7 separate regions of the Homo sapiens genome follow, and all the other regions are linked to region 3. Evidence: promoter capture Hi-C in 16 types of primary human blood cells and fetal thymus (Javierre and others, 2016). All regions are on one chromosome and are shown on one strand. The core of a region is centred on a gene start or on the middle of the fragment in contact, and the rest is flanking DNA. Distances in the headings are between cores, read along the strand shown.

Region 1 (3,954 bases), core at 534-3,033, 470 kb after region 3:
TACATCATGCTTCTATTTTGGAACAATAACAGGATGGTAAAAGTCCAGAAAAGATGAAGATGATGAATATTACAAATACTTGTCCATCTCATGCTATTTGTCCCCCTCCCATACCTTACTGATTGATGTCCATGGCGCACTGAATGTTCACAGCTAGAATATTCTTGGACACCTGCATACCTCTGCTCTACTGGTTGTATGCTTACCAAGAATCGGTTTTGTTTATTTTTAGTTGTTTTTACTGTTATAATTTTGTCACTTTGAGACAAAATAGGGAAATAGGCCAGACCCATGCCTGTAATCCCGACATTTTGGGAGGCCAAGGCAGGAGGATCACATGAAGCCAAGAGTTTGGGACCAGCCTGGACAACATAGCAAGACCCCCAACTCTACAAAAAACTTAAAAATAGAAAAAATAGGCCAGGTGCAGTAGCTCACGCCTGTAGTCCTATCACTTTTTTGGGAGGCCAAGGCAGGAGGATCGCTTGAACCCAAGAGTTTGAGACCAGCCCTGGCAACACTGTGAGACCTCATCTCTGGAAAAACAATTTTTTTTTTAATTAGCTGGGTGTGGTGGTGCGTGCCTGTAGCCTCAGCTACTTGAAAGGCTGAGGTAGGAGGATCACTTGAGCCTGGGAGGTCAAGGCTGCAGTGGGCCATGGTCCTGCTACCACATTCCAGCCTAGCAACAGAGCAAGACTCTGTCTCAAAAATAATAATAATTAATTAATTAATTAAAATAATTTTTAAAATAAAGAGAAAATAGAGAATTTATTTTATTTTATTTTATTTTTGAGGCGGAGTTTTGCTTTTATTGCCCAGGCTGGAGTGCAATGGCGCGATCTCGGCTCATCGCAACCTCTGCCTCCCGGGTTCATGCGATTCTTCTCTCGAGTAGCTGGGATTACAGGCATGTGCCACCACACCCGGCTAATTTTGTATTTTTAGTAGAGACCAGGTTTCTCCATGTTGGTCAGGCTGGTCCCAAACTCCTGACCTCAGGTGATCCACCCGCCTCGGGATCCCAAAGTGCTGGGATTACAGGCGCGAGCCACCGCGTCCGGCCGAGAATTGTTTTATTAAGGCTTGTATGTTAATTCATCCTACCGTAGAAAATTTAAGAGTGTTCATTAAAAGTTTATTTTCTAGGTCCTGATGAGTTCTGACTTTCTGTAATTCTAAGCTGATCTAACAACAAGCTAACCATATATAGCTAAAAGTTATAGGCTACGTACACGCGGTGTTCACTGTATGCCAACGCTGTACACAAATATTTGTCTATGCTAACTTGTCTGAGATCATACATCCCAGAAGTGGTGAAGTCAAGTTTGAAACCCAAGCACTCTGGCTCGGGATACTGCTTCTCTCCCCTTAGCGCATATTACTGGCATTAGTTGAAGACTTCTTTAATCCAAGTAAATGTAGAAAAGCAACAATTATAAATAACAAGAGTCCCTCGGGTAGACCGCCTGACTCTCGGATCAACTGAGGTTCCACCCAGAGCACGCCCGCCTTCAGTGAGCCGCAACCCCTATCCCTACGGTCTTTATCTGCAATTCTCTACGAACTGATTCACTCGATTTTTAAGGATTTTTTTTGTTTTCTTTTCATTACTTCTTTCAGTTTGGGGGAATCTTCCTGCACATTTGACTCGGCTCTGAGTGCGCAGACCAACGTGTTTCCTCTTTCTCCAGCCTAGGGCGGTGCCAGCCCAGGGAGCCTGCGCTTAGCGGCCCCAGGCCCGCCCCTGACACTGAACGCCGCTTGTCCCCTCCGGCTTGCCGTCCTCGCAGCCATGGCGGCCGCCGCGCTCCCAGCATGGCTGTCTCTGCAGTCGAGGGCAAGGACTCTGCGTGCATTCTCCACTGCCGTCTACTCGGCCACTCCGGTCCCGACACCTAGCCTGCGTGAGTGTCTGTCTCGTCTTCTCTGGGCTTTGGGGGAGGTGCAAGAGCGGAATACCGGCCTCATGAAGGGTGCCGCGGTGGCTGAGCCAGCGCCGCCCGGGGGAGGCCAGTGCGTCCGCTGCCAGGCCCGTCTGGTAGGAAAACCATGGACGTGGGTCTGTGCTCTGCACCCGCGTTGCCCGGCTTCTAGCCGCCTGTTTCTGCCCTGGGTGCTCTGGGAGTTTGCTCAGAAAGCTTACATCCCCCTTCCCCGTGACCTGCTCCTGTGTTGCCCCCGTCCACAGCCCCTGGCACAGGTTACTGGTGCTGTGTTGTTTATCGGGCATCGGCGCTGTTGAACCATGGATTTCCCCAAACATTAAGAGAGTCATACGGCTGTGCTAGGACAAATTGCTGCTCTGAATTCCAGGCCACCAAATGGGCGGCCTTCATTCAACAGGCGTTGATGACCTCCATTTAACAGAGATTGTAGGGATGCTTGATAGCGTGCTTACCCCGGAGGACTCTAGTGGAAAATACAGATTTATTAGCGGAGAAGTGCTATGTAGGGTGAGAGGCGCTGTGATAGAAGTGTGGCTAGAATGACGGGAGCGTTGAGGAGGAGCTGGCGTGAGTCTAATCAATAGGCGGATCCTACCTGTGCTACTTCCTGTTATATCTCTAATTTACTCTCCTCATACTACCAACTATCTAGTTCAGGTGACCATCTCATTTCTACAAGTTTTTTTTCCGTTTCCTGTTTCCCCTCTTGCTCTCCTACATTGAATTCTCAAAACAGCCAAATGAGGTTTTCAAAATTTAGATCTTGTCTTGCTGCTCTCATGTTCAAGATCTACAAATGGTTTCCCATTGTTTTCAGATAAACTATAAATACATTAATCCTTCATACTGGCTCTTCATAGGTCTAATAATTGTCTATTTTTAAATTTTCATTCTTAAATTCTTGGAATACTTAACTCCTATTGTATACCATGCAGTGTTCTAGACACTCACCGGAGATACGGCAAGGTGGGGAAGTCAATAGTATAAACAACCAAACAACTAAATAAGATGTCAGATAGGGTTTAATGCTTTGAAGAAAAATAAAGTAGAGTATTGAGAATGATGGATTTGGGGGGAGTAGTGGCCACAGGATGGTCAGGAAAGATCTTTCTGAGGAAGTGACATTTGAACAGGGCCCCAAGCCATGCAGAGATATGGGGAAAGAGCCTTTGGGGTATGGGGAACTATAAGTGCAAAGGCCAAAAGTTGAGAACAATCTGAGGGGTGTGATCAAGGAACGGGAAGAAGGACAATGTGGCAGGAGCTAAGTGTGAGTAGAGGAGAGAGTGGTAGTATAAGACGTCAGAGAGTTAGTTAAGTAATAATCTGATCTCTCAAGAGTTTGTAGACATTTCATTTGGATTTTTGGCTTGGGTTTTATATTGAAAGGCTTGGAACAGGGAACTGATATAATGTGATTTACGTTTTTAAAAGATCACTGGCTGCTTTACTGGGGTAAGAGTGGAAGCCAAAGATCTGTTTGGAGGCTGTTGCAGTAATCCAAATGAGGTGATGGTGACTTGGATTAAAGTAATAGTGGAGAAGGAGGTGTGGTTGTATTTGCGATATATTTTGAAGGTAAAGTTCATAGGATTTACTGATGGATTTGATGTGGGGCTTGAGGACAAGTCTCAAAAAAATCCTGTTACATTTTTGTTCTGAGCAATTGGATGAATGATGATTCCATGTACACGAATTGGGAAGACTGGAAGAAGAAAATCAAAAGCCCTGCCAAGGGGCTGAGTGTGGGGGCTCATTCCTGTAATCCCAGCACTGTGGGAGGTCGAGGCCTGCGGATCCCTTGAGCCCAGGAGTTTGAGACCAGCCTGGGCAACATGGCGGAACCTCGTCTCTATTGAAAATACAAGAAATTAGCCAGACGTGGTGGCCCATGCCTGTAGTTCCAGCTACTCCAGAGGCTGAAGTGGGAGAATCACCTGAGCCTGGGAAGTCGATTACAGTGAGCCGTAATCGCACCACTGCCCTCCGGCCTGGGTGACGGGAG
Region 2 (4,066 bases), core at 807-3,306, 290 kb before region 3:
CATTTGAGTTTAGAAAATAAATGAATTTGTTAGGTCTAGAAACATTTGACAAAGACCAGATAATACCTTTTACTAATGTTGGTACACATTTTGTTCTGTCTTGTATAATGTAGAAATGTTCATATTTTTCTTTATAAAAGTACTTAGGTGATGCTGTTTAACAACAAAATAGCTTTTGAAAATGATGCAAGGTAATATGTGATTTATACTCTGTGCAGTTATTGTACCCATACTTGCTACCTTATTTTTCATTCAGTGCTACCAATTAAAGAATACATAAGGGCTTTCTTCTTGCTATTTTTACTATTGTATAACAGAATATTCCCATGGGCCACGGAGTTTAGACACTATTTTAACCTTCTTCTGATAAAAATTTTCAAGTCATTTAAGAAAATTATAAAATCTCTGACATTATGATGGAAATCAGAGGGGGAAAATGTATATTCACAGCCAAATCTCCTCATCTATTTTGTAAAAGGAAGCAATTCTGGGATAGTATTTTTAACAAAGCTACTGGAAATAGTGGAGCAAGTTTAGTTATTTGGTTTTACAACTGTGTTGCCCTAAACAGATTTACCTGCATCCCTAACCAACTGTCCAGCTAGACTCAGGCACTTCAGTGAACATATATCTGGTATTGAGTTGTTAAAAAAGGAGTTTGACATCTGAAGTTAAGAACCAGGAGTGTTATAATGAATATGTTACTAAGTGTCTCATGAGAATGCCTTGAAAATAAATAAGTGCAATTTTAAAATAAGATTCTCATTTTCTTAATGGAAAATCTTTTTGCATTTCTTTTGTACATGTTCTATTAAGATATTCACATACCATAAAATTTACTTTTTTGAAGGGTACAGTTCATTGGATTTTAGTACACATTTGCAGGTTATGCAGTATAACCACTACCTGATTCCAGAACATTTTCATCACCACAAAACCTTACATCCATCAGTGGTCTCTCTCTAGTTTCCCCTTTCCTCAGTCTCTGGCAACCACTAATATTTCTATCTCTTTGAATTTGCCTATTCTGGACATTTCATATAAATGGAATGATAAAATATGCGGCTTTTTGTGATTGGCTTCTTAACATAATGTTTTTAAGGTTCATCTATGTTATAGCATGTATCAGTACTTCATTCCTGTTTATTGCCAAATAATATTGCATTGTAAGGATACAGCACATTGTGCTTATCCATTCATCAGCTGATAGGCATTTGGATTATTTTACTTTTTTGGCTGGTAAGAATATGCTGCTATGAATATTTGTGTACAAGTTTCTGTGTGGACATATGTTTTCAGTTTTCTTGGGTATATATGTAGAAGTAGAATGGATGGGTCATATAATAACTCTGTTAAAATTTTTTGAGGATCTGCCACATTGTTTCCCAAAGCAGCTATGCCAAGCTTGTCCGACCTGTGACTTGCTGGCTGCATATGGCCCAGGATGGCTTTGATTGCGGCCCAGCACAAATTCACAAACTTTCTTAAAACATTATGAGATTTTTTTTTTTTAAAAAAAAGCTCATCAGCTATCGTTAGCATTAGTGTATTTTATGTGCAGCGTGATAATTCTTCTTCCGATGTGCCCAGGGAAGCCAAAAGATTGGACACCCCTGAACTACATCATTTTACATTCCATCAACAATGTATGGAAGGTTGCAGTTTCTTCACATCCTCTCCAACAATTGTTATTGTCTTTTTCATTACAGTCATCCTCGTGGGATATATTGAATTGCATTCTCCTAATGACTAGTTAGGTTAATTAAGTATCTTTTCATGTGCTTATTGGCCATTTGTATATCTTCTTTAGATAAATGTTTATTCAAATCCTTTGCCACTTTTAAAAATGGGGTTATTTTCATTTTATTGTTGAGTTGTAAGTGTTCTTTATATATTCTGGATACTAAGCTCTTATCAGATTTTTTATATGTATATTTCAGATATATTTATATTTATATATCATATATATATATATATATATATTTGCAGGTATTTTCATCCCACATGTTTTTCTCCCCCATTAGTATCAGGAAGAAATTCAAGAACTTAATGAAGTCGCGAGACATCGGCCACGGTCCACGTTAGTTATGGGAATCCAGCAAGAAAACAGACAAATCAGAGAGTTGCAACAAGAAAACAAAGGTAAGATACGTTACTTTTTGACATTAATCCCATTTCTAGTCTATATTCCTAAATCGTATTTATTGCTCTTTATCCTGTCCCACATATGAACATCTGCCTGGTTGACATCCTCTTAGATTCTCACCCTTAATATCCAGTTAGCACTGCTGTTGTTAGCTATGAAATAACCCAGCTTCATTCTCTGCAGTCCCACTGCATTGGCCCCCAGATTAGATGCTCAGTCTCTTGCCTGAAATGTCCAAACTGATCTCCCTGATTCCAGTCTCTCTTCCCCCTTCCAATCTGTCTTCAACATAACCATCAGATTGATATTTCAAAAATCAGTCTGATCATGTAATTCTTTTGCCTAAGAACTTTCATTATATACTTATTACCTTTTACAGGGTCCCTAAAAATCATTTCCCAGCCTTTTTTTTAAATCTTCTTCCCACAGCTTTCTTCACTGTGAACTCTTTGCTCTTGCCAACACCAATCACTTCCTAAACACGTCATCTGTTTTCATGCCTACCTGCTTAGAAGGTCCATTCCTTCACTTTTCAACTGAGGGAACTCACACTGTACTTCTACAAAGCTTCCACCAGTTTCTTCCCATAGACATCTCTTAAATCTATTTGACTTAACACTCCACTCTGCCACCTACCACATGCTTGTTTTCTCTACTAGACTCTTGAGGTCTGTGGCCCTTAATATAGAGGGAGCCTTGGCCGATATTAATTGCTGTTTAGTACATCTTTGTTGAAATGATTCTCAAGAAACAAGCTTAAAATATTCAAAAAACTAATACGGGACTTCATTTGGTGTCTCTTATTGTTATATGGCTAGATTTTTGTGCATTGTGTTTTCTTTTTAAAATGTCCCGTTCATAAGTTGCTTAGTGGAAGAGAATATTTTGTGTACTTTTAACTCAAGTTGGAATAAAATACAATATTATTCTTGATAGAATTACGTACATCTCTGGAAGAACATCAGTCGGCCTTGGAACTTATAATGAGCAAGTACCGAGAACAAATGTTTAGATTGCTAATGGCTAGCAAAAAAGATGATCCGGGTATAATAATGAAGTTAAAAGAGCAGCACTCCAAGGTAATCCATTCTATAAATGTGACCTGAAATGGAAAAGAGAGACGATTGATTATTCTGTGTTCAGATTTTTTTTGAAAAAAATCACAGGTATCTAGTAATGGCATTTTAACATGATGTTGAATGTTTCATCTTTTTAATTGACATTTTCTCCTTTTTCTTATTTTTCCATTTCTTGTTATATATCATTTTCTGTTTGATTTATAAACTCTCACTGTTTCTTAGAAACTTTAATTTGTACGTTGAAAAATAAATTTTATTTTGGATATAAAGGTAAGTCTGGTCTCTTCAACATTATTTTTGTAGGGCTATATACTTTTAAGAAATATTTCTTAAAGGGCTGGGCATGGTGGCTTACGCCTATAATCCCAGCACTTTGGGAGGCCAAGGCAGGAGGATCACTTGAGGCCAGAAGTTCAAGACCAGCCTGGGCAACATAGCATGACTCCATCTCTTCAAAAAGTAAAAAAATTAGCCGGGTGTGGTAGCACATGCCTGCAGTCCTAGCTTCTCAGGAGGCTGAGGTGGATAGACCACTTCAGCTCAGGAGTTTGAGGTTACATTGAGCTACGATCATGCCATTGCACTCCCATCTAGACAACCGAGTGAGACCCTGTCTCTTAAAAAACAGAAATTTTTTTAAGAAACATTTTTTCTAATAAATTTGTGTATTGACTTCTCTTGCAAAAACAAAAAATAATGGAAACCTTTTTTAAAATCTGAAAGCAGTTTAATGTAGATTTTTCTTAAGACTGTTTTCTGAATAAGGCTAATTCATCCAGACTATAAATGATCTTGTTTATTATAATGGAAAAAACATGGGGTTCAGGAGAAGAACCAACAT
Region 3 (3,724 bases), core at 739-3,238:
TACTTCCAAGCTTACTTACATGATTATTGGCAGTATTCAGTTCATCACAGGTTGTTGGACTGGGGGCCTGAATTCCTTGGTGGCTGTTGACTGGATCTCTCTCAGTTCCTTGCCATGTGGGCTTCTCTGTAAGGCAGGTCACAAGACAGCAGCTGGCTTCCATGAAAGCGAGCAAGTGAGAGAGCAAGGACAAGCAAGATGGAGCCCAGAATATTTTTGTAACCTAATCACGGAAATGATATCCTAATCACTTTTGCTATATTTCCTTTTTAAGAACTAAGTTACTAGAGAAGGGAATTACAGAAGGCAGGAATACTAGAAGGCGTGGATCATTGGCAGCCATCTTAGATGCTACTACTACTTACCACATAATTATATTACAAACTCACTTTTTAGTATTTTGGTAACTGTATGTTAACATTATCAATTTCCTTTGTAACCCTAGGTAGTTTATGCATTTAAGAACACTGTTTTGAAAAGGGGTCCATAGACCACCAAAATTCTGGTTCATAGCTCTAATTTGTTTCAGTTGAGGTACTTTCAACAACTTCCCAGGGAAATTTGTTTACAATGGTCTCAATTTAGGAGAATTTAGGAACTAGAGGTCAAAGTCTTAGGCTATCCCATATTAACCTAGACTGCTACTCTATACTAGTTCATATTACTCTAGTATGGCACATTTGAAGACATAAATTTGCTGTGGAACAAACCATACACTGTTCTCAATCTTATCGTAGCATTTGAATGGTATGTGTATGCGTGCAGTACAGGGAGAAGGGTGTATAGGCCTGTCAAGCTTGTCTGATCACAATTAAACCTCCTATGCTTGTATATGACAACTGTCATTTGAGTTTCAAAATGACCATATAAGTGGAGCTGATCTCCCCAAAAATACACTAATTACCAAACTAGAGCTTTTCCCACTACTAAGCTATGTATGAAAAAGCACAGTGTAAGAAAGAGAAATGAGGTAATGCTTCTTTCCTAGGTGTTTTGCTCGTGTCACCTGCTCTTGGGAAACCTAAAGATGACAGGTGGCATTTCTAAGTGATAGTTTTTGCAAGCACAGTACCAGCTTCATACGTTGTCTCAGTAAGCTAAAAGCTAAGAATATTTTATAAGACCTCCAATACTCATATTGAGGATAAACTTGCCAACAATAATTGGGAGTCATTCTCTCATTTGGCTTTCCCAAAGGCCAGTTTTGTCCCCAGACGCAAATTGCATCAACCTTCCCAAAGTTGTCCCTTTTGGGTCATCCTATAGGGGAGTGCTCTTCTGCACAATTCTCAGATCCTACTGATAAAGCAGGCCAGTACTGTAGTTATTTTAGATTTTCCAAGAAAACTCAAACAGGTTTTTAATGTATTTTTTGTGGCATTTACAAATCCTGGTTCCTCTCCAGTCTCTGGAGTCCCCTCATGGTGAAATGGAAGCGTCAAGGAACCTGGGTGGCTTCGAGTCCCCACAGCTACCGACTGAGCAACTTAGCTGATCCATCTTTGTTGACAACTGTTTCCCAATCTGAAAAATGCGTGAATTCTCTCTTTCCATTTCTAACATTCTTTGCATTGCACTGTTTGAAAAATTCGGATGACATTTAGAATGTGACTAATGTCGCAACACATTAGGCCACTCTCAAGAGAGGCCTGAACAGGTTTGGCGTAAAAACGGCAGTGAGGTGAGGCTGGTGAGAGGGGAAGTGGCGACAGTTCAGTCAACTCCCTCAAAACCAGTCTGGCCTTCACCAGGCGGAGATGGGTGGGGCCGGGAAGACGGGCGTTGACGACAGAAGGCTACTTCCGGCTGTGGTGCGTATGACGTCAGGGCGAGTCGGACCGACCCAGCCACCGAGAAGCCGAGGAGGCAAGGCTCGCGAGAGTTCAGGGAGGCCGCCCTGAGATTCCGGCGAGGCCGCGGGTCCCACCTCCCGGGGGCGGGGCGAGGGCGGAGCGGGGAGAAGGGAGCTGACGGGCGCCCGGCCGGCTGCGGTCCGTGCGGAGGCTGAGCCGGCCGCGGGCGCGACCGGAGGCAGGTGAGTTCGCGGATGTAGCGCTCGGCTGAGGGCCCGAGCTCGCCGCGCCAGCCCCAACTCTGCGAGCAGGAGCAGGAGGAGATTTTAGGTGTCTTTGGGTGTCCAGGGAAAGCCGGGCTAATTCTGGGGCTGGAAATGTCTCCGGGGAACCTGCGGCGACGGCCTTGGCCCTCTTATTCCCCGGGGTGATACTGGCCCCATGTGTCCAGAGAGGGAGCCTCGCACCCGGGGAGGAATCTTTGTCCTCTGCTCCTTTCTCCTTCCACTCCCCGGCCCCCGAGCACTCCGCTCCGGGTCCCCGCCTGGGCTTCACAAACAATAACAAATGTCGCGGATCCTCTCCGGGTAGCCCCAGCGCTCCCGTCCCGTGCCCTCCAGCCGATGTCACCCAGAGCCAGGATCCGAAGCATGGCTCTTCAATTGTGGGGGCTGTTTGTGTACCGTTCCTAAAAACTGATGCGTCAGATTGCCAAACATTTCTCAAGACAGACTCAGGAAAGCCTCCCAGCTCCTAGAAGCCACGGAGTGCTCAAAACCAGTCTTAGAATCTGTCTTTACCATTGCACCCGTAGCCCCTTCCTTTCAAAATCATTTCTCCCACTCCTTTTTTCACCTTTAGTATCGAGGTCGAACGAGTGGTTATTTGGTGTGGGAGTAGAAAAGAGTATAACCGATTGAGTAGGGCACGTTTCACCTTTAAAAAGTTGCCAGGTTGACAGCAAAAGAACAAACTTTATTTTCAAAACCAGTGGCCTCCCCTTTTACTGGTGCTGCTTTTGTTTTGTGGAATAGCTTTTCGGGTTCTAAGTTTGGAGGAATGATATAAAAAGAAGTGGGAGGTGGGGGGAGGGCTAGTGGCTCTGGAAGTAGTGGCTTGTCCAAAAGTAGGATGCTATTGTTTCTCACTTGATAAAATGCAGAACCAACACTTTTACCCATTTCACATAACTTGTGATAAGTTTTGAGAGAAGCCACTTAATCGGAAATGGCCTATTAGCTTATTTTACTGCTCAAATCTGAAAAAACAGCTTTAAGTGATTTAAGTTCTGCCTCTTGATTGTAAGATGGGGATTGATGAGTGAGACCTTGTCTTTTTTGGCGCTGGGGCTTACGTTTGACCGGTCTCTCTACTTTAAGGCAGGGCCTATTGTACTTAAGCCCATTTTTGCTTCCTCAGTACAGATTCTTGAAAGTTCTTTGTCTCAATCATATATGTATATAAGGTACTGTAAACCTCTTTGAATTTGATTGGCCTTTCTCTCTGTGCCTCAGGATATGTAAAACAATTAAGTTTATTATACTCTCTCCCCAGTGGCTGAGAGGTATTGTATGTGAATTAGCCACCCTTGTGACTATTTGAGGAGAGAGAAGTTAGTCTAAAATATTATGTTAAATTATGATATTACATAATTTTATTGCATAAGTTCATCAAACTACTTCCATCTGAAAAATCCTGATCTCAAAATAGGTAGGTACAATGAATTAAAAAATGTTTTGGTTTGACCTCACTTAGCTTTGTTTTCTCCTTGTTAAGATGGCTGATAATGTTTCCCATTTGGTTGTGATGTGTTTAGAATGAGAAGCAAAGTTGGGTGTAGTTTTTGTACTCTTTTGAAAGGCCTTGCCACTAGGAATGAAAAAATTAGACTTAGAAAACACACATTAAATAGAAGCAGTTTTTCTCTAGCC
Region 4 (3,616 bases), core at 1,030-3,529, 380 kb before region 3:
CAATAAACACCAATTCTCCAAAACCCAGACCATATGCAAATTGTTCCTATTGACCCCAAGATGTAAGGAACCAAATCTTCATGTTTTAAAGGATTATAGCAGTACTGTAGGGGTAACCTTAGCTGACATGTAAGTAAAGGTCATAATCACGTGTTCACATAAGAACACAACCTCAGCCTTTATGTCTAATCTTAATTAACATCTTTCCCACGTGCTGCTCCCCCTGATGGCCATGCTGATCTCTAGCAAGTACATGGAACAGAGGAAAGCACTAATCATTTGAAAAAGCTTTTCAAATGTAATAAATGAATTCATATTTTGCGCTAAATCTATTATTCATGAAAAACCATCATACGTTGAGTTAGAAATAATTATTTATGGCTGTGTTTTTTGGGTTTCTTTTTTTTTTTTTTTTTTGGTTTGTTTGAGACAGAGTCTCACTCTGTTGCCTAGGCTGGAGTGCAGTGGCACAGTCTTGGCTCACTGCAACCTTCCCCACCCAGGTTCAAGTGATTCTGCTGCCTCAGCCTCCCGAGTAGCTGGGATTACAGGCATGTGCCACTACACCTGGCTAATTTTTGTATTTTTTGTAGAGATGGGGTTTCACCATGTTGGCCAGGCTGGTCTCGAACTCCTGACCTCAGGTGATCCTCCTGCCTTGGCCTCCCAAAGTACTGGGATTACAGGCATGAACCACCGCACCTGGCCTATGATGGTGTTTTTAAGCTGCCAATCATGACTCATCAGTGAATTGTGAAGTCAATTTACTGGATTTCGACCAGTATTTTTTTTAAAGAAAGAATAGAACAGAATAGAAACTTTCAGAGCACATTCTACATAGTAAGTAAGTGTTGTTTTATGACATGTTATTTTCAATTCTCTGTATGTAAATATATGTGTTGTAAGTTGCAACAGAAATCTATTTCTTACGGTAGTGTTCAAGAATTTTGAGGGCCACAGCTTCATAAGAAATCCAAAGTGGCTCTTCTTAGAAGGCTAGTCCCTTTTCCAGTATCTACAGGGAATAATCAGATCCAGGAGACCCAGTCTTCCCATTTTCCTCTATCTCTGGTTGACATGAGATTTCCTAAAGATTCAGATATCTAGACAGGGAGGATGATCAGCAGTGCATCCACCAACCAGCTGAGAAGTAAGCTTCCCTGGACATAGTGCTCAGAGTACTATGGCATCACATGAGAGGACCTCAAGGAGAACATAAGGAACACAGATGACAGGAAATTAGGACACAGGGCAGGAGTGAAGAGGACATGTGTATGAAGCCTTAGGTTGCCAGCCATGTTTATAAGCAGCATGAATCAGAACAAAGATGAGAAGTAGGCTGACCATTTCTGCAGTGTAACTCATCAAAAATCTGCAGAGACAGTTGAAGTTAGTGGTTGGGTGTTTGGGCCCAGCAGCATAACCCTCTGGGATCTAATCCCTGTTCTCCTCTTACTAGTTTGTCTATTATTGGGAATGTTAACATCTCTGAGCCTTATTTCCATCATCTCTCTCTATATATATTTATATATAATATATAACTATACCACACATATATATAAATATATATATATATATATATATATATATATTTTTTTTTTTTTTTTTGACAGAGTCTTACTCTGTCACCTAGGCTGGAGTGCAGCAGGGCAATCACAGCTCACTGCAGCCTCAAACTCCTGGGTTCAAATGACCCTCCCACCTCAGCCTCCTGGGTAGCTGGGACTATAGGTGTGCACCACCACGTCTGGCTAATTTTTAAAACATTTTTTTTTGTAGAGACAGGGTCTCACTATTTTGCCCAGGCTGGTCTCAAACTCCTGAGCTCAAGTGATCCTCCCACCTCGGACTCCCAAAGTGCTGGGATTACAGGTGTGAGCCACCACACCCAGCCTCTATCATCCATAAATTGGAAAGAAAAGGGTTATTATCTCATAGGATTTTTATGATTATTTAATGAGTCAATGCATGTGAAGAAGTTACATTGCTTCTGGCATATAGTAATGATTCAATGAAAGTACTTGTTATTTTTTGAGAGATTTTGGAGATGAGAGGGAGAGTAAGAGCAATAAGATTATGAAATGAGATAAAATACAATGACTCTCACAATATAATTACAATATTTTTGTTAAAAAGATATGACTCGGTATATGACAGCCCTGAAACTACTTTCAACATTTTCTTCTCTGGTAAAGATGTCAGTTTCTCATCACACTGGCTTGGTTGAAGTTACCTTCATGCATTTCATGATTTGCAGAGATCAAGGAGAAATTAATATTAAATCAAAAAATTCAAATATTAATTTTAAAAAATACTTGTTTTTTAAAAATCTAATCTAAACCTCCCTTACTTTAAAATTGTCTGCCTAGGTGTGTTTCTTACATTTGGAGACACTCTAAGAGACACCAGTTATCTAGGGCAGGGAGGGTCCAGGCAATTAGATCAAGAAAAGTACAGGAAAGAGTGTGGGCTGCAGGGGTGGGAGGGTAGCTACCTGTTGAGGATGAATTGATGCCAGGAGACATGTAGTTCCCAAAGGTGGGCCCCAGATTCCAGAGAAGGGCAATTGGGTGAATACCTCACGGAAGCCCTACTTTTCTGGCAGGCACATGAGTCTACAGGGGAGAACTGTTGTAAAATTACAGCCTGCAATTTAGAAGTAATCCCCCCATTAAGGATAACTTTGCCTTTCCACCAGAACTCAGGGACAACTAAAATGTAAATGGTGATAATGTATTGTCAGACCCCAACAGACATGTTTTTTTTCCTTACCTCCCAAGGTAAGAGAGTAGAGACAATGCATACTTTTAATCTCTTTTTTCTATCTCCTCTATCCTACTCTCCTTCCCAAGTTCACCCTTTTTCTTTTTATTTTTTTAAAGACAAGGTCTCACTCTGTTGCCCAGGCTGGAGTGCAGTGGCACTATCATAGCTCACTGCAACCTCAAATTCCTGGACTCCAGCAACCCTCCCACTTCAGCCTCCCCAGTAGCTGGGATTACAGGCATGAGCCACCACATGCAGCTCTCTCACCCTTTTTCTTCATAGAAACTGTTGTCTGCCTAACATTAAAGGTGTACTTTAGCTGGGTGTGGTGGCTGATATCTGTAATTCCAACACTTTGGTAGGCTGAGGTGGTAGGACTGCTTGAGCCCAGGAGTTTGAAACCAGCCTGGGCAACTTAGTGAGGCTCCTGTCTCTATATAAAAAAAAAAAAAAATTTTAATTAGCCAGGTGGGGTGGCACACGCCTATGGTCCCAGCTACTCAGGAGGCCGGAGTGGGAGGATTGTTTGAGCCTGGGAGGTTGAGGCTGCAGTGAGCTATGTTCATACCATTGCACTCCAGCTTGGGAAACTGAGCAAGACCCTGTCTCAAAAAGGAGGAAAAAAAGTGTACTTTAGTAAGCTTGCTAAGCATTAATTTCTAATTAAGATTTTATTTAGAAATAAAGTTTTATTACAATAAAACTTAATTAGAAATAAAATAATAAACCATAAAAGACTATCTTAAGACTTTACTTCTTTAATATAAGAAGAGCTTATTCCAATGGTTTTATTTATCTTGATTGAAGTTTGTATCTTTTTCACAAAAGAGTGTTTTTTAGTATCTCCTTT
Region 5 (3,614 bases), core at 923-3,422, 400 kb before region 3:
TCTGAATATTATATATATTCACCATAATCATATGGTGAATATTATATATATATATTATTTGAGGGTCACAGTTCTTAGAAGTATTTACACTACTTGCTGCTGAATCGCTTATGGCTTGATCTGACCCTAATGTCATAATTCTGTAAGGGCTTGGAAATGAAAAAGAGGAGAGGTGTTGTAATTAGAAGTATTTTATGAAGAACTGATACAACTGATACCATTTGGTTCTAAGAACCATGATCAATTAGAGCTGAGAATCATCAAAATATTGAAGAAAAGAGAAAATGGCCCAGTCTCTATAACAGAAAAGAATGGGGAGTTTTAAGAAAAAAATGAGCCAGTCACTGTGGTTCACACCTGTAATTCCAGTTCTCTGGGAGGCCAAAGTAGGCGGATTGCTTGAGCCCAGGAGACCAACCTGGGCTGCATGGCGAAACCCCATCTCCACCAAAAATACAAAAATTAGCCAGGCGTGGTGGTGCATGCCTATAGTCCCAGCTACTCAGGAGGCTGAGGCGTGAACCCGGGAGACAGAGATTGCAGTGAGCCAAAATCACGCCTCTGTGCTCCAGACTGGACGGCAGAGTAAGACCCTGTCTCAAAAAAAAGTATGCATATCTAAAATCTTGCCTACTTCAATTTGCAGTGATTCTTCCCCAAATACAATTTAATGTTCCCATGTAGATGTCAGAAAGCATTTATCAGGCACTTAAATGAATCCCATACCTGTATGCCACAATAGTTAAGGACACAAGTATTGCATAGACCTGGGATGAGTTACTAATTCACAATTTACTCTCTACCAGGCTTTATGCAAATACATAACCTCTGGGGCCTCGTTTTACTTATCTGTAAAATGAGGACAATAATGGTATCTATCTCATGTGGTCTTTGTGAGGTTTAAATTAGAAGTTACATTTAAGGGGCTTGATGTGGTGCCTGGCATAAAGTGCTTAATAACCTTTCATGTTTTTTGTTTTGTTTTGCTGTTTTTTAGAGAGAGGATCTCACTCTGTCATCCAGGCTGAAGTGCAGTGGTGCAGTCATAGCTCACTGCATCCCAGAATTCCAGGGTCAAGCAATCCTTTGGCTTCAGCCTCTCAAGGAGCTAGGACTACAAGGCATAAACCACCACATCCAACTTCAATAAATATTAGCTATTATTATGATTATGATTATCTGTGAGAAAAGCAGCATGAAATGTCATAAGAAAACCAAGCATCAGAGGTGTTTCTGTCTATGCAATAAGACATGCCAGTGACTGAGCCCACACCAGAGCTGTCTCCAGAGCCTCTGGGCCACCAGCTCTGCCATTTACAGATCAATCCCTTCCATCAACTGTAGCGAATTCTTTTTTTGTTGTTTTTTGTTTTTGTTTTTTGTTTTTTGTTTTAAGATGAGTCTTGCTCTGTCGCCTAGGCTGGAGGGTAGTGGTGCCATCTCAGCTCACTGCAACCTCCGCCTCCCAGGTTAAAGTGATTCTCCTGCCTCAGCCTCTGGAATAGCTGGGATTACAGGCCCCCACCACCATACCCAGCTATTTTTTGTATTTTTAGTAGAGACCAGGTATTGCATGTTGGTCAGGCTGGTCTTGCACTCCTGGCCTCAAGTGATCTACCCGCCTCTGCCTCCCAAAGTTCTGGGATTACAAGCATGAGCCACACTGAGCCAGGGCAAAATTCTTGATAATTATTAAATTTTTCTTTTTCAAGGAATTTGAATTTTTTAAAAAATATGTGTAAGAGAAAGAAATCAATTTTTTTAACAGACACGTTTCAGACATCAGGGAAAAGCAAATTTTGAGACAAAAGAAACAAAATGGCTAAATTTCCAGCCTGGTGCTATAAAACCACCCACAATTGTCACATGAGAACTCTGCTTTCCACAAGCTGACAGCTTTTTATCTCTTCAAAGAAGGTAGCGGATAAAACCCACAGAGAAAACTGCCATCTAACACCAGAGAATGCTGCCATGCTTGTGGTTCCTGATTTTTGGGAAGACATAATACTTTGGTTGGGCAAAACCAGGGAGAATAAATCCAGGGAAAACTTCCTGGAGTCCTTTTTCTCACCCCTGTGATTCCCCCAAGTTTACCTTTGTTTTCTCTCATTTATGAATCTAGTTTGAAATGCAGTAATGTGGGTCTACTTTAGTGCATTATTTCGGATGTATACATCCTGATTACCCAACTAATTAGCATCAATTTGTTTAAGGCAAGAACTCTGAGTTGTACTTTTTGTTTCAGAGTGAACACCTAGATGTGAAGGAAGCTGTTTTGTACCTGTTTTTTGTACCTATAGGCACAGTACCACAGTCTACAGTCCTGATTATTTGTAAGAACTCAATATATAAAAAAGAAAGTATAAGAAATCAATGGGAAAGCATGAGATTATACAAGAAATGATGTTATTTACTTACATGGAGAATACTAGTTTAGCAGTTTTAAGCTATCACGTATCTTAAAAATAAATCCAGGGCCAGGTGCAGTGACTCACGCCTGTAACCCCAGCACTTTGGGAGGCCAAGGTGGAAGGATCACTTGAGGTCAGGAGTTTGAGACCAGTCTAGGCAACATAGCCAGACCCCATCTTAAAAAAAAAAAAATTTAATTTAAAAAATTTTAAAAACTACATCCATAGTCCCAGTTACTCAGAGGCTGAGACAGGAAGATCTCTTTAGCTCAGGAGTTTGAGGCTTCAGTGAGACATGATGGTGCCACTGCACTCCAGCCTGGGTGACACAGTGAGACCTTGTCTCAAAAATAAATTAATTAATTTTATATTTAATGACTTAATGTATTCATCTGAATTCAAAATTCACCAAAATAAAGGGAATTGAATATTTACCATCTTAAGAACAGGGGATACCTATGCTTAGAAATACATATGCATTAATATAAAAACATAAAGCAAATTATGAAGTAAGTTTAATTCTTACAACTTTAAATTTTTATGTAAAAATTCTAACACCAGTAAGGGAAGGGGAAAGGGTGAGTGAAGGGAACAAAAAGCGATATAAATGTGTTTACTACCACTGAACTGCATACTTAAAATGGTAAAGATGGTAAATTATATATGTATTTTTTCTTCTATTTTTAAAATGTAACAAAAAACTCAACTGAAAGTAAAACAACAAAGTGGGAATAGTTTGCAACAAATATTATAGGCAAAAGGTTGGTTATAGGCAAAAAAATAAAAGTAATATAATAGTGAGATATCATTTCTCATGCATTAGATTAGCAAAATAAAAGTTTTTAGTTATTGTAACCAATGCTGTTAGTCAAACAGCCAATATCATATTTTGTACAACCATTTTAATGGCAATGTGGACATATGGAATATAACCTAAAGAAATAATCCTATGTATGAAAAGTGCTTTATTCACAATTATGTTTATCATAGTAATAATAATAAGCATGGAGAAGAAAATAAATATTGAACAGTAGCAAATTAGTGATTACACTGTAGCAGCTGCCAGGGAGTATAGTAAGCAATTCTTACTAAGAATATGTAATAATATGTAAAATGATTTATATGATGACTTTATTTTTATTTTTTTATTTTTTTTTATTTTTTTGAAACGAAGTTTTGCTCGTCGCCCCGGCTGGAGTGCAG
Region 6 (3,990 bases), core at 422-2,921, 350 kb before region 3:
TACATGACTTATCTGAACTGTCCCTTTCTGAGGTGTCTAAATTTTCAAATGCATTTGAGTTACCTGAAAATATGGGCTCAAAAACTATGATGCATATTCTTAGTGACTGGTTCTGAGGCACAGAACATTTAGCTTTCAGTGGATTCTCAAGAACTAGCCAGATTTTGCCAGGCAATACAGTACTTAACTTGGATTCTACTGACATGTTTATAAGTTACCCACATACCTCCAAAAACGTATTAACAGCAAGATACAGGACTATCTCTGACTTTAATAAGGTACAAGGTAAGATTGTGGGAGTTGTTGAGCTTTCTCTTTGCCATATTTTTCAGAGAATATTTATACTAACAAGCAGCAACCAACTAAATAATTAAAACAGAGTAACCTAGTGGTAACCGTGTGATGAAATTACATGTGCTTGATTTTCTTCTCTACATTTGTCTATATTTTCCAACTTTTTCAAGGAATAGAGTTGTTTTTAGGAAGAAAAAACTTTAAGAATATATCATGTAAGAAAAGTCAACAACAGGCCGGGTGTGGTGTTTCATACCTGTAATCCCAGCACTCTGGGAGGCCAAGGCAGGAGGATCACCTGAGGTCAGGAGTTTGAGACCAGCCCGGCCAACATGGTGAAACCCCGTCTCTACTAAAAGTACAAAAAATTAGCCAGGCGTGGTGGCAGGTGCCTGTAATCCCAGCTACTCCGGAGGATCAGGCAAGAGAATCGCTTGAACCCGGGAGGCAGAGGTTGCAGTGAGCTGAGATCGCGCCATTGCACTCTAACCTGGGCAACAAGTGCGAAACTCCATCTCAAAAAAAAAAAAAAGAAAAGTCAATAACAAAATACAGTACCCATCTTATGCCTTATACACATTATTTAATGTGTATTGTGTTTACAATAGATTGATCAAAGACTCACAAACCTGGAAGGAGCTTCAAGCCATTACTCTGTCCAGTTATTATTATTCCTAAATCATTCATCTGTTGCAGTCTTTATTTTATTTTTGAGACGGAGTTTCGCTCTTGTTGCCCAGGCTGGAGTGCAATGGTGTGATCTTGGCTCACTGCAACCTCTGCCTCCCGGGTTCAAACAATTCTCCTGCCTCAGCTTCCCGAGTAGCTGGAATTACAGGCATCCACCACCAAGCCTGGCTAATTTTTTTTGTATTATTAGTAGAGATGGGGTTTCACCATGTTGGCCAGGGTGGTCTCAAACTCCTGACCTCAGGTGATCCATCTGCCTCGGCCTCCCAGAGTGCTGGGATTATGGCGTGAGCCACCGTGCCTGGCCCTGTTGCAGTCTTACAGACCACCAGAGTTAGAAAAATGCTTGCTAACAGATTCAAACTCTATAACTAAAGTTAAAACCATCCTCTTTCATTTAGTTTATTTATCTCATGATATACTGCAAACAGGCAGTATGATGATTAATAACTCAGTATCTATAGTGAAACGGGTTTGAAATCTAGCTGTATAATTTACTATATGTGTAATATTAGGTATTCACATTAGTATATTACTTCTATCATTTATAAACTGAGGATAATTATTCCAATATATTTGTTGTGAAGATAAAATGAAGTATGTACTTAGCACAGTGCCTGGCACATGGTTCATTAAATGCAAGCTATCATCTCTGCTCATCTTCTCTTCTCTGAACTAGCTAACTCATATCAGAGTGATTGCTTTAGAATTTGTTTCAAATCAAAACATACTTGTATGGTAATTTCCATGGAAATTTTCATTGATCTTTAATTTGGGGGAGATTTCCTTGTTTAAATTAAATGTCTAAATTAAGGGCCAGGTGTGGTGGCACACACCTGAATCCTAGCACTTTGGGAGGCTGAGGCAGGAAGATTGCTTGAGCCCATGAAACTGCGACCAGCCTGGGCAACATAGTGAGAGCCTGTCTCTACAAAAACAAACAAAAATTTAAAAATTAAAAAAAATAGCAGGCGTAGTGGCGCATGACTGTAGTCCCAACTACTCAGGAGGCTGAGGGGGAGGATCACTTGAGCCTGGGAGGTTGAGGCTGCAGTGAGCCATGACTGTGCCACTGCACTCCAGCCTGGGCAACAGAGTGAGACCCTGTCTCAAAAAACAAAAACAAAACAACAACAACAACAAAGGGGTTCCTTTGGAGTAACTACAAAGTTTACAGAAATATTAGACAAGGTACAACCAGTTTGCCTGTCACTAAATATGACTGGCTTCAAGTAACATAGATGCTGAGAACATGTGCTCTGCATTCTGAATCTCAGAAACCTGAGACCACGTCACACCCAGGTAAGCAATTCTATCATCATGGAATGGTAAGGCTGATGGACCTTGATGCTGTTTGAAATTCAGTAGAAACAGATCTCCCTAGTAGTTACGACTTACATTGTTAATCAATCCCATTAAATATGCAACAGTACTTAGATGTCACTTTCAAATAGTCTATTTATCAAGTGACTGCACTACTCTATCTTCTTGATTCATTGAGTTTTTTTCAGTAGCGTGATACTCTTCTTTCCAACTTAATGCTCCCCACAATATCTAAAGCCACCTGCCTTTGTTATATTGCACCATAGCCCCATTTTTGTGATGTTATCTCATCTTCCTCAGAAAACACCAAAATGTATCTATGCAGAGCTTGAAATGTTTTGTAGTTTGAGATTTAAATGTTAATTGAAATTGGAGTACTAGTTTGTTGCTATGATTCTGTTCAATTATGTAACTTACGTGTACCATTATCTAACTTATATGTACTGATCTTAAAACTTTTCCTGGGCCGGGTGCGGTGGCTCACGCCTGTAATCCCAGCACTTTGGGAGGCCGAGGTGGGCAGATCACGAGGTCAGGAGATCGAGACCATCCTGGCTAACACGGTGAAACCCCGTCTCTACTAAAAATACAAAAAAAAAAAAAAAAAATTAGCTGGGCGTGGTGGCGGGCACCTGTAGTCCCAACTACTCGGGAGGCTGAGGCAGGAGAATGGCGTGAACTCGGGAGGCAGAGCTTGCAGTGACCGAGATCATGCCACTGCACTCCAGCCTGGGTGACAGAGCGAGACTCCATCTCAAAAAAAAAAACAAAAAACTTTTCCTGTTCAACTTTCAACCAAAAAACAAAAAAATCAGTTTAAGAATTTAGGCTGTTTGCCAAAATATTGTTTTTCTGAAGTCCCCTAAACCAGATTTGATTAGTTAGTAATACTAATATCTTTGTGTATATGTGTGTGTATATATACATCTTTGTGTGTATATATATATCTTTGTATATATATATATTTGTGTGTGTGTATATATATATAGAGAGAGAGAGACAGAGAGAGGGAGACAGAGAGGAGATCAATAGAAGTGTTCCTACTGCCCTATGCAAAACTAAGGGAGGAAACAAGTTAACCATCAAGACAACCTTAAGCATTTAAATAAAGAGTAGTATTTGTTGAAATTTATTTCTTGTTTGCTTCTTCTAGGTCAACCCAACACATTTCCAACAGTTGTTAATTCAATCCAATTGATAACAGCAACTGTTGGGCACACATTTCATTTCCCGATCCCTCCTGACACATTTTATGACCAGGAAGATGGCAACTCAACTCACTTGACACTTGAAATAAAATCAGTAAATGAGTATCCTTCGGGCCCAGAAAGCTGGCTGCAATTTAACATGACTCATCAAATATTGTATGGGTATCCCCTAGAACTGGATTTCCAATATTCCCCTCAGGAATTTATTCTCTGTGCCACTGATTCCGGGGGTCTGGTTGCTCAGATGCCTTTGACCATTGAACTGAAGCTACCCAGAAGTAGTCCCTGCCACACTTACACTCTGCGCACAAAAAACAGTTTCTACTCATTCATTAAAAGGAGAGAGAGAATTGGTTTATTTTTTGCTAAACTCACTGACTATCTAAACTCTAGTAACCCTGAACAGATCGTATTAATTACCCTGAGACCAGGGTCTACTATCATATCCTGGTATAATAGGGCCTTATGTTTAGTC
Region 7 (3,798 bases), core at 244-2,743, 330 kb before region 3:
TCTTTATTAGCAGCATAAGACTGGACTAATACAGGTTGTAAACAGAGAATGTCCTAAACAACACCCACAAATACTTAAGAACTCTTCCTCACATACACAACAATATTAAATAACACTGTACAAAACAGAGCTTCATTGGAAAATTTTTTTTTTTTCTGAAACAGAGTCTTGCTCTGTCGCCCAGGCTGAAGTGCAATGGTGCGATCTTGGCTCACTGCAACCTCCGCCTCCCAGGTGCAAGCGACTCTCTAGCCTCAGCCTCCCAAGTAGCTGGGATTACAGGTGTGTGTCACCATGCCCGCCTAATTTTGTATTTTTATTAGAGGTGGGGTTTCACCATGCTGGCCAGGCTGGTCTTGAATTCCTGACCTCAGGTGATCTGCTTGCCTCAGCCTCCCAAAGTGCTGGGATTACAGGGGTAAGCCACCACACCCGGCCTGGAAAACTTTTTATAAACCTAGTTACCACAGCTGTACCTTACCTTTTGATTTTTCCACTTGTGGAGTTTCATCCATTTCAACAAGGGGTTTTTTGTTTGGAGGTTCTGGGGAATCAGGCGAATCTTTTATAATCTCAGCTTCAGCCAATTCTTCTTTTCCACGCTCTAAGATTCCTTTTAATCTTTTAGAGGGACAAATAATGAAATGTAAAGTTCAAATTTTTAGAAGTCTAATGGTCTAATAATTAAACTAACTTTGCATATCAACCTTTATAAAAGATGGCTAATCTCATAAAATAAACCTAGGGACTAATCAAAAATCTCAATCTAAAACCAGGTAACAGAAATTAATGAATTAAATACAAGTTTCCCTTTTCCTTCATAATAATAATGCAATGATTCAGGAATTAGCTGTAAAATATAAAAAAAAAGAAGATACTTAAATTAAAATTTAAAAGGTAGGAAATGATGTGATCTTCAGAAGAAATTGCACAATTCTGATTTTTAAAGATAGGAACAAAATAACACTGAATTTCAAATTACAAATAAGATTAATAAGTTTATTCCCATTTATTCTCTAGTCTATGTATTGTGTAGATGTATTTATGTTCTGCAAATCAGAAACTTAACTCTAAACTTTTAGAGTTTCATCAGAGAACAAAAACACTTGCAAAATATACAAGAGTGTACTTGAAGCTCAGTGGGACCTAAATGATAGTACTTTTTCCCTCTTACAGTGAGCCAGTAGTGTTTCAGAAGCTCAGCAGCCCTAAGGAAAACATGAGCTTCTAAAGTCAAAGAGAATAAAAGTATTCTATTATTAATGGATACAATTACAGGATTTCCAGAATTAGCTTCAAAATATTCCTATGGGTGTAGTGGTAAAGGTAGTGGATGAAGATATATATGAAATGAGATCTGCCATGAATTGTTAATCATTGAAGGTAGATGATGAGTAACTATCTGTTCTTTTGCTACATATGTTTGAAATTTTCCATCATAAAAAGATGTGTTTTTCGTCAGTCGCAGTGGCTCATGCCTGTAATCCCAAGCACTTTGGGAGACCAAGATGGGCAGATCGCCTGAGGTCAGGAGATCGAGACCAGCCTGGGCAACATGGTGAAACTCCATCTCTACTACAAATACAAAAAATTGGCCAGGCATGGTGGCACATACCTATAATCCCAGCTACCTGAGAGGCTAAGGCATGAGAATCACTTGAACCCAGGAGGCAGAGGCTGCAGTGAGTCGAGATCATGCCACTGCATTCCAGCCTGGGTGATAGAGCGAGACTCTGTCTCAAAAAAATAAATAAAAATTAATTAATTTTAAAAAAAGTGACCTGGTGTTGGTCTGATTTCTGGCAAGTGGATAGAGGATATAGCCAGAGGATACGCTATTTCTATTTATAAGCCTTTATTACTTTTATGTTTTTCAGATTTAACGCTGACATCATAATATAAATCACAAACTAAAGGAAAAGAGTATACTATTAAGAAACATTTTCAGAATAGACTGTATGCCCTTCTTCTGTGCTTCCAAGGACATCCTATGCCTATTTTTATAATAGCACCTTCCACACTTTGCTGCAATCACTTTTTTTTTTTTTTGAGACAAAGTCTTACTCTATTGCCCAGGCTGGAGTGCAGTGGAGGAATCTCGGCTCACAGCAACCTCTGCCTCCCAGGTTCACGTGATTCTCGTGCCTCAGCCCCTTGAGTAGCTGAGATTACAGGCATGCACCCCCATACCCAGCTGATTTTTGTATTTTTTTAAGTAGAGACAGGATTTTGCCATGTTGGCCAGGCTGGTCTCAAACTCCTGACCTCAAGTGATCCACCCGCCTCGGCCTCCCAAAGTGCTGGGATTACAGGTGTGAACCACTGCACCCAGCCTGCAATCACTAATTTGTCTGTCTCTAGCATCACACTGTATGTTCTTCAAGGGTAGGGATCTTGTGCCAAATGCCTGGCACATCATAAGCATTCAGTAAATATTTAGTGAACAGAGGAATAAAATTATGTCTGTGAAGTTCACAACACATAAAGCACATACTGATACCAAACATCATGCATTATGATTTTCAGAAGTTAATTAGGAAAAACTAACACTAACTTTGCCCCAACAGTAAAAATTCATACTTTTTTGTGCCCAAGAAAGATCCTCTAGATTTTAAGAATGATAAAATTACAGTAATGAAAATGAATAAACATGTATTAAATGAACTACTATTAAATCAGGTTTGAATGTATGAAAGTGTTCTATGCAGAATGTGATATAACAAAAGGCACCATGGTGCTATATCAATGCCAGGAAGTCACCTCTCTGAGTCTTGCCAAGACTTTTCCTGTTCATAATCTTTCACTGCTTTCTCTGACTTGTCCTCTTTGTCTTCCCTCTTTCTTCCTCGTTTCTTTCGTTCTTCCTCTTCTGGGGGTTTGCTCCTGCATGCCATCAGACATTCCAAGACTCTTTGATGTTTCTCTGAGTTGTTGATATGGGCTCTGACAAGGGTTTCTAATTCATTCCACATGATACGGTATTGTTCATCTCTGCAGCAAAGATTTGGAAATACTCTTTAAATAATATTGAAGTGTCACTTTCTAGTGGTAAAGTAAAAACAAATAATGAAATGTGGACTTCCTTCCTCTTACTTGGTACTTAATAGTGAAATTCTAGGCTACAATATATCCATTTCTATGATTTTGTATTATTTCATCTCAAATATATATATAAACATGTCCTCAAATAGAATTTACATATGGAATAAGTTATCTTGAGAAACAATATGTATCAAGTAAATGTGATCTATAAAGTAAGAAAGAAAAAAAAATGTACCTTTTAGGGCCCTTTCCTCTTGTACCAACTGTGGAAATAGGTAGAGGATCATTTTTTCTTTCCATATCAACTAAGTTGTATATTGTTTTTTGACAGTTTAACACATCTTCTTCTGTCAGAGATTCTTTCACAATAACACTGGCTAATGGAACTACCTGTTAGATTTTTTTTAAAGAAAAAAGAAAATCTGTCTTGAAAAATAAATATCAAAACATCTAGGCAGAACTTGATTTTCGAAAGGATTTTAAAGATTATCATGGTGAAGGAATCTATAACTATCACTTCAATTTTTAATTATTAATTCTTTAACTTTAGCAAGCTCATATATTTCATTCTTTGCTTAAGAAATGGTATAAATTACAAATTGTCTAATTGATTTCTATAAAGAATATATAACTAATCTATAAGAAAAGTTGAAGCTACTTAACACTTACCGCTTGCATGTTAAAAATGGTGGTTTGTGAAATGATCATAGGCCAGTAACGGGTATGTTTTTCTAACTGATCTTTTGCTCGTTCCAA

The links. Contacts are between HindIII fragments. The CHiCAGO score rates a contact against its expected background, and 5 or more counts as called.
Region 1: the fragment with the promoter of MRPS35 here is called in contact with the fragment with the promoter of STK38L in region 3 in 4 of 17 cell types (fetal thymus, total CD8 T cells, naive CD8 T cells and 1 more); the score reaches 6.5 in fetal thymus.
Region 2: a fragment that was not itself captured here is called in contact with the fragment with the promoter of STK38L in region 3 in 2 of 17 cell types (neutrophils and monocytes); the score reaches 6.0 in neutrophils.
Region 4: a contact is called between a fragment that was not itself captured here and the fragment with the promoter of STK38L in region 3, in 2 of 17 cell types (neutrophils and total CD8 T cells). The highest score is 5.9, in neutrophils.
Region 5: a fragment that was not itself captured here is called in contact with the fragment with the promoter of STK38L in region 3 in 10 of 17 cell types (neutrophils, naive CD4 T cells, activated CD4 T cells and 7 more); the score reaches 11.8 in neutrophils.
Region 6: a fragment that was not itself captured here is called in contact with the fragment with the promoter of STK38L in region 3 in 1 of 17 cell types (neutrophils); the score reaches 6.7 in neutrophils.
Region 7: a fragment that was not itself captured here is called in contact with the fragment with the promoter of STK38L in region 3 in 3 of 17 cell types (neutrophils, naive CD8 T cells and M2 macrophages); the score reaches 7.2 in neutrophils.

What each region holds. Positions count from the first base shown.
Region 1 is chr12:27,709,049-27,713,002 of GRCh38, forward strand. MRPS35 (mitochondrial ribosomal protein S35) reads left to right here and starts at 1,784. Exons shown (of 8, transcript NM_021821.4): 1 at 1,784-1,907. The coding sequence starts at 1,796. It overlaps MRPS35-DT (MRPS35 divergent transcript), which reads right to left and starts at 1,699. Exons shown (of 5, transcript XR_001749448.2): 1 at 1,615-1,699. RefSeq lists enhancers at 1,215-1,294, 1,325-1,404, 1,415-2,204. The HindIII fragment of the contact is 2,856 bases long and covers 1-2,139 here.
Region 2 is chr12:26,954,519-26,958,584 of GRCh38, forward strand. FGFR1OP2 (FGFR1 oncogene partner 2) reads left to right here. Exons shown (of 7, transcript NM_015633.3): 3 at 2,025-2,142; 4 at 3,083-3,225. Among named protein-coding and RNA genes, the nearest start is that of FGFR1OP2, 18 kb to the left of the region's middle. The HindIII fragment of the contact is 1,309 bases long and covers 1,403-2,711 here.
Region 3 is chr12:27,242,298-27,246,021 of GRCh38, forward strand. It overlaps STK38L (serine/threonine kinase 38 like), which reads left to right and starts at 1,989. Exons shown (of 14, transcript NM_015000.4): 1 at 1,989-2,035. RefSeq lists enhancers at 700-759, 3,348-3,397 and a silencer at 1,818-2,057. The HindIII fragment of the contact is 3,512 bases long and covers 795-3,724 here.
Region 4 is chr12:26,863,492-26,867,107 of GRCh38, forward strand. No RefSeq gene overlaps it. Among named protein-coding and RNA genes, the nearest start is that of ITPR2, 32 kb to the left of the region's middle. The HindIII fragment of the contact is 2,252 bases long and covers 1,154-3,405 here.
Region 5 is chr12:26,841,604-26,845,217 of GRCh38, forward strand. No RefSeq gene overlaps it. Among named protein-coding and RNA genes, the nearest start is that of ITPR2, 10 kb to the left of the region's middle. RefSeq lists a silencer at 3,473-3,614. The HindIII fragment of the contact is 5,050 bases long and covers 1-3,614 here.
Region 6 is chr12:26,892,214-26,896,203 of GRCh38, forward strand. No RefSeq gene overlaps it. Among named protein-coding and RNA genes, the nearest start is that of INTS13, 44 kb to the right of the region's middle. The HindIII fragment of the contact is 5,632 bases long and covers 1-3,990 here.
Region 7 is chr12:26,910,697-26,914,494 of GRCh38, forward strand. INTS13 (integrator complex subunit 13) reads right to left here. Exons shown (of 17, transcript NM_018164.3): 12 at 3,712-3,798; 13 at 3,278-3,432; 14 at 2,761-2,991; 15 at 482-621. Among named protein-coding and RNA genes, the nearest start is that of INTS13, 25 kb to the right of the region's middle. The HindIII fragment of the contact is 9,163 bases long and covers 1-3,798 here.